2 separate regions of the Homo sapiens genome follow, and region 1 is linked to region 2. Evidence: promoter capture Hi-C in human tissues and cell types (Jung and others, 2019). All regions are on one chromosome and are shown on one strand. The core of a region is centred on a gene start or on the middle of the fragment in contact, and the rest is flanking DNA. Distances in the headings are between cores, read along the strand shown.

Region 1 (3,211 bases), core at 585-3,084, 41 kb before region 2:
CATTAAAAAGTAAACATAAGCAAAGACCTGCAGATAGACAGTGAACAAGTAATAGTCTGACAATGAATTCTGATGGCATGAGGAATGTATTTGCTTTTTAAAAGTTATGCAAAATTACGAACACCCCCCCACACACACTTTAAAGGTTTATTTTATGTTCATGAAATTGGTCCTTGGCAGGTCCGCTATCAGTCTCTTCTACAATGTCTCTATTCCAAGGCCTAGGCACATAGAACATAGCTATCCTGAAAGTGCATTCTCATAATCGAGGAAACAAAGCTATGGTGGATGGGTGCACTGGCTCTAAAAGCTTCCAAATGAGAATTACATACATCTGCTCTGCTCATATTTCATTAGCAAAAGCAAATCATTTGGCCATGCCTAACTTCAGTGGAAAGAAGTATAATCGTCTCATGGGGAGGAAGTTCAAGTAGTATTGAACGTATTGTAATATTTATTAAGGATTTCCTATATACAAGGCACTAGACTAGGTGCTAGCACATAGATGATCTCATTTAATTTTTACAACCCTACGATTTGGGTACTGATAATTGTCACTGTTAAAGAAGAGGAAATTAAGACAGAATAAAGTTGACTAGTTAAATCTCACAGCTAATGAATGAATAATGAAGCCTAATTCAGACACAGACAGTCTGACTTTGGGGCCCAGCTCCTAACAAATTATACCGAAGTAGCAACACAAGGGTCTACTGCACAGTTTATTGAATGCAGAAGGCAAAAGATGCAATATTCAGAAATATGAGCAAAACAAAGGAAGCTCATAAGACTTGAGCACTAAGTCAGCAAATCTTGGTAATACAAATATTCAGTAAACTTGATTATTTGCAAAAGCAATCCAGACCTACCTTGCAACATCCATAATAGCACAGAAAGAGGCATTCCAGGGAAATGAGGCCAAGAAGGCCAATAAGGATACTGTCAAACAGATATTTATTGAAAAAGACCAAAGACTAAGACCCAAGAGGACTGAAAAAATTAACCAAGATGTGGATCCCCGGCCTTTCAGGGATCCCTGGTTAGGAAGAATTTGTGGTCAAAACTAAACTCATACTGAATGTTTCTTTACTTACAGGTGTCTATATTAAAATGTTATCTTAAATCTTAATTTAGTAATAGTTTTATTTATAATACATACTTGTGACATTCTCAAATAATGCCATTTTATCAAATCTAAAATTTAGTGGATATTGCTCCCAGCGAAAATAACAATCAGAACCATCCTAAACATGGTCATTGGTGTTGTGATCATCATCATCACCACAGCTAACATTTAATGAGAGTTCATAAGTATCATATGTTTCTCTCTATTTGCATTATCTCAATCAACCCAAATAATAACCCTGTGAGAAATGTACAATAATCAACATGAGGTAACTGAGGCTTAGAGGGATTAAGTAACTTGCCTAAGTTCACAGAACTGGTAAGACGTGAACCAAGATTAGACTCCAGGTGTGTCGGACTCTATGCTTTGGCTTTCACACTGGTGCTTAGGCAATTCCTTCCTTTGTTCACTCCCGAATGAGTTAAGAGAAGTAGGCAGGAGGATGTAGAATCAAGCCCAAACTGATACAATTACATGAAAGGTACATGGGATTAATCAATCAGTTTATTTTCCAAACCCAAAACTTTACTTTTCCCCCATTTTCACTCACATCCATCAAAATAGAAACAATATGATATTGATTATATTCTAGTGCAAATACATTGCCGTTAATTTTGTCACCTTAAGCAGGATAAGCTTACTGCTGTAGCTATAGAATCGTTGCTAGGGACAAGTGTGGACACACTAATATGTGAGCTGCTACCAGCATTTCCAGCTGCTCGAGTCTACTCTTTTCCTGCTCACCCAAATCAACCCAGTCCTCTTTCTCATTTGTCCTAACAGGCCCAGTTGCTGCTGCTGCTTCTTTCTCAAGCTATTCAACATAAAATTGTTCAGGTATGCAAGTGGAACTCAGTTATCCATAAACTTATTAAATAAAATGCTGCATATTTCTTTCAGTCCTATTATTCCTTGGTTCTAATCCTGGCCCTCTGATATACTAACAAAGGAGAAAGTTTTTAAAAATTAAAAATTAAGTTAGACTTTGAATATAAATCACATTCTACAGTAAACCACTTACCTTGAAAAGACAAGTAGATGTCTGAATGGATAAAGAAATGAACACAATATTGACTGAGCACATTATTAAATGTGTCAATTCATTTTAGATTCCAATCTTAACTGTTCATTTATGCTCAGCTCTTCATCATTTGTAGCTTTGTGTAATCAGTAATCAGTAAACGGGTCACATTTTCAGTTTAATTTCAATGTAGTTTCAGTTTCATGGTAATTGGGTCACATTTTGCAGTTTAAAGAGAATTATTTCATTCATTCTCTTCTCAGTCAGCCCAGATGGCTGACCTCTGCAGACTGCATCACCTGGCTTCCTTGCCTTTGGGCACCTGGTTGGGTTTGGCCAATGTGAGGCTCAGAAAGAGAGGTCACATATTATTTAGTACCACCACTCCCAGCTTTGTCTGCTGGGCCACAGCTTGGTAGTGACTGCATGCCTCTTCAGCTTGAAGTTTCCAGAGCTATGGCTCTTACAGGGTTTGTTAAATTGCCCTCACTTCTCAACTCTTCAGACCTAGGGATACTAAGGACTTGCTGCTATTGCTGCAAGAATACCAGAAGTACCCAGTTCCTAGGTACTTTATTACTTGTTGACTATTTTAAACCTTGCCTACACCTCTATACGTTGTCACTGAAGCCCTTTTTACACCTTTGATTACACCTTTGATTGTGCTATCTGTTTTTCTGCCTGGACTATTATATAGGCTAAAACCACCTGTAATAAGAATAAGTCTTTAAGTCAGTCAACCGCAAAATATTCTGACTGGGGCTACCATGTTGCTCTATCATCATCACTAGAATGAGATTGGATACCTGTTTTAAGGCACACCAGGCAGCTCACTAAAGCTTAAAATTCCAAGGTTTCCCGAGAATGCTGGATTTTCCCACCTAACTGCATTAAAGGTATCTAGGACATGCTTGTATTTATCCAAGCTTTAGTCTCACTGGCCAGGGAAGAATCACTTTGTGTGTGTGTGTGTGTGTGTGTGTGTGTGTGTGTGTGTCTGTTTCAACTTAATTATGAACATGTGTATCTTCAATGCATATATCTAATACAATAATAGTAGTATCAAT
Region 2 (3,138 bases), core at 45-2,544:
AACACCCTGGTATCCAAATGTCAGGCACACAATTAGCAAGATATAAATGGTTGATCTGTATCTGATGCCTCCATTATTTTTATGAAATCATTGGCATCTATGGTCCTTTCTGCCTCCTTCCTCACTATTTCCAGCCCCGATACGCCATAGAAGCTGTATACTTAAAATTTGCTAACAAACATTTAATTACCAAATACATTTTGTTCATCATTTTTACTACAAAAGTAATAAATGTTCAAATGCCACACTGATAGCAGTAAAATGTAACAGTCCTCCTTCATTCTCAACTCTCACAACCTACTCCCCTCTCCAAAGGTAATTATTATAAAGAGGACTTCCATGCTAATTGGATGCTTTCAGTATCACATAATCTTAAATACATAAATATAATACTATGATATTTTTGTGACTGACTTTACCTTTAAAAAAATACCTAGGAGACATTTCCACATGATTACACTTAATCTATTTAATGGTCGCATATGTATATACAATAAATTATTTGGTAATTTACCTATTGATGAACATTTGTTGGTTCCCATATTTTGCTTTTATAAACAATTCTAGGGCAATTACTATTTGTCATGCACAATTTTTATACCCTAGAAGTAGTATAATACCTGACATATAGGAGGTGTTCACAAAATATTTATTGCATGAATGAATACAGCTACACTACTATGTAGCCATATATATTTGGGGTGCTTGTGAAAATTTCTCTGAAATAGATTCCTAGAAGTATACATGATGAGTCAAAGTTTATGTGCAAAATTACCCATGCAAAATCTACATATTTATACATTCCATCCGAATAGAAGACCTTATCTTAACATTTTGGCTACTTGATGTGTGAAAATAGCGTTTTCTTGATTACTTCCATTGTTTCACGTTTCTTATCCATTTTTTTTTTACTGTGATTGCCTATTTATGCCATTTTTCAACTTTCTATTTTATTGTCTTTTTCTCACTTCATTGGGGAAATTCTTTCTAAAATAATCTTTTGCATATACTTTAGTAGGTAATTTTCCTTTTAAACTTGGGTTTTGCTTTGTAGTTTTATGTTTTTATGCATTCAAATTTGTTTAAATAGCCCTGTGAAACTAATATAGGTGCTAATAGAAAAAAACTCCATACACTGTAAATACTTGATTATTTAGTCTAAAAGTGTGAAGTGGGAGGTGGCAAGCAGAAATTTTTTCAAGAGACCCAGGGTCAATTTGGGACCGCGCGCCGCAAGGGGGAAGGGACCCTAACGGTTGAGTAACAACCGGAAGCCATTAGAGTCTGTGCTTCACTTCCGTTCCAGCCTCAGCGGCAGCTGGATCGCTCGACGGAGTGCCTCTGGTAGTTGGCCAAGACGCCGAATATCAAAATCTTCAGCGGCAGCTCCCACCAGGACTTATCCCAGAAAATTGCTGACCGCCTGGGCCTGGAGCTAGGCAAGGTGGTGACTAAGAAATTCAGCAACCAGGAGACCTGCGTGGAAATTGATGAGAGTGTGCGTGGAGAGGATGTCTACATCGTTCAGAGTGGTTGTGGCGAAATCAACGACAGTCTAATGGAGCTTTTGATCATGATTAATGCCTGCAAGATTGCTTCAGCTAGCCGAGTTACTGCAGTCATCCCATGCTTCCCTTATGCCCGACAGGATAAGAAGGATAAGAGCCGGTCCCCAATCTCTGCCAAGCTTGTTGCAAATATGCTCTCTATAGCAGGTGCGGATCATATCATCACCATGGACCTACATGCTTCTCAAATTCAGGGCTTTTTTGATATCCCAGTAGACAACTTGTATGCAGAGCCAACTGTCCTGAAGTGGATAAGGGAGAATATCCCTGAGTGGAAGAACTGCATTATTGTCTCGCCAGATGCTGGTGGAGCTAAAAGAGTGACCTCCATTGCAGACCAGTTGAATGTGGACTTTGCTTTGATTCATAAAGAACGGAAGAAGGCCAATGAAGTGGACTGCATAGTGCTAGTGGGAGATGTGAATGATCGTGTGGCTATCCTTGTAGATGACATGGCAGACACTTGTGTTACAATCTGCCTCGCAGCTGACAAACTTCTCTCAGCTGGAGCAACCAGAGTTTATGCTATCTTGACTCATGGAATCTTTTCTGGCCCAGCCATTTCTCGCATCAACACTGCATGCTTTGAAGCAGTGGTAGTCACCAATACCATACCTCAAGATGAGAAGATGAAGCATTGCTCCAAAATACGAGTAATTGACATCTCCATGATCCTTGCAGAAGCCATAAGGAGAACTCATAATGGGGAATCTGTTTCCTACCTGTTCAGCCATGTTCCTTTATAACAGAATAACTTCTAGGTTATGCTATTTTAAAATAAAATAAGATTAATAAAAACAAACCTTGCCTTTATTTTTTCTTAGGTTTGATTAAAAGTTCAGCAGAAGATCCAGCTTGCTCCAGTGTAACTTTCTACATCCCACATCAGGTATATAAGAGTTTACCTTAAATTAGGGAAAAACAGGTTAAGAATAATCACTAGGATTTCCTGACTGGGTTGTCTCATCTGGCTTCTTTGATGATTTTGTTAGCCCAGCAGCTTTAACTACAGCCCTTCTGCTGCAAAGATTTCAGACTTCTGAGGGTGTTTTGTAGAGGTGTTTGAAAGTGGTTGGAAAGCTTACATGTAAATGCTTCGGAGTTTTCTTTTTTCAGAACAACTAGCAATAAAGCCACCCAATCTACCCCCTGCCCCAAACCCCCACTTTGTGTCACAAATTCTCCAAGTTCGATGCTCAGTTGCAGCAAGAGCCCTGAGCCACCACAAAATTAATTCTGGTTGCTGAACACCCTCAACAGCAGGAATAGGCAACTTTCAGCTTGAGCAGCCATTGGGATCTTGAGAGGAAGCAACAAGTACAGTAAATGCTTCTTGAGAGGAGGAAGATTGATCTGTCACCATCTATTTGGACACTATCTATCTTGGATTCTCAGTTATACCTGTTCCTTTTGATTTAGCTTTACCTCCACCCATCTTGACCTTTTCATTGCTAAATATCCTACTGGGCCCCAAATGGTCAGGGTACCATAGTCTTCTGGAAGGCAAACCCACTTTTTGCTATGTAATCTCTAATATTTATATTAGTTATTTTTGCTGTAACTTAATCTT

What was found. Contacts are between HindIII fragments. The study calls those that stand out against the background at their distance.
Region 1: a fragment that was not itself captured here is called in contact with the fragment with the promoter of PRPS1L1 in region 2 in 2 of the 25 tissues and cell types used here (heart left ventricle and mesenchymal stem cells).

What each region holds. Positions count from the first base shown.
Region 1 is chr7:18,067,200-18,070,410 of GRCh38, reverse strand. No RefSeq gene overlaps it. Among named protein-coding and RNA genes, the nearest start is that of PRPS1L1, 41 kb to the right of the region's middle. The HindIII fragment of the contact is 3,716 bases long and covers 1-3,211 here.
Region 2 is chr7:18,026,002-18,029,139 of GRCh38, reverse strand. It overlaps PRPS1L1 (phosphoribosyl pyrophosphate synthetase 1 like 1), which reads left to right and starts at 1,294. Exons shown (of 1, transcript NM_175886.3): 1 at 1,294-2,370. The coding sequence starts at 1,358. The coding sequence ends at 2,314. The HindIII fragment of the contact is 4,496 bases long and covers 1-2,168 here.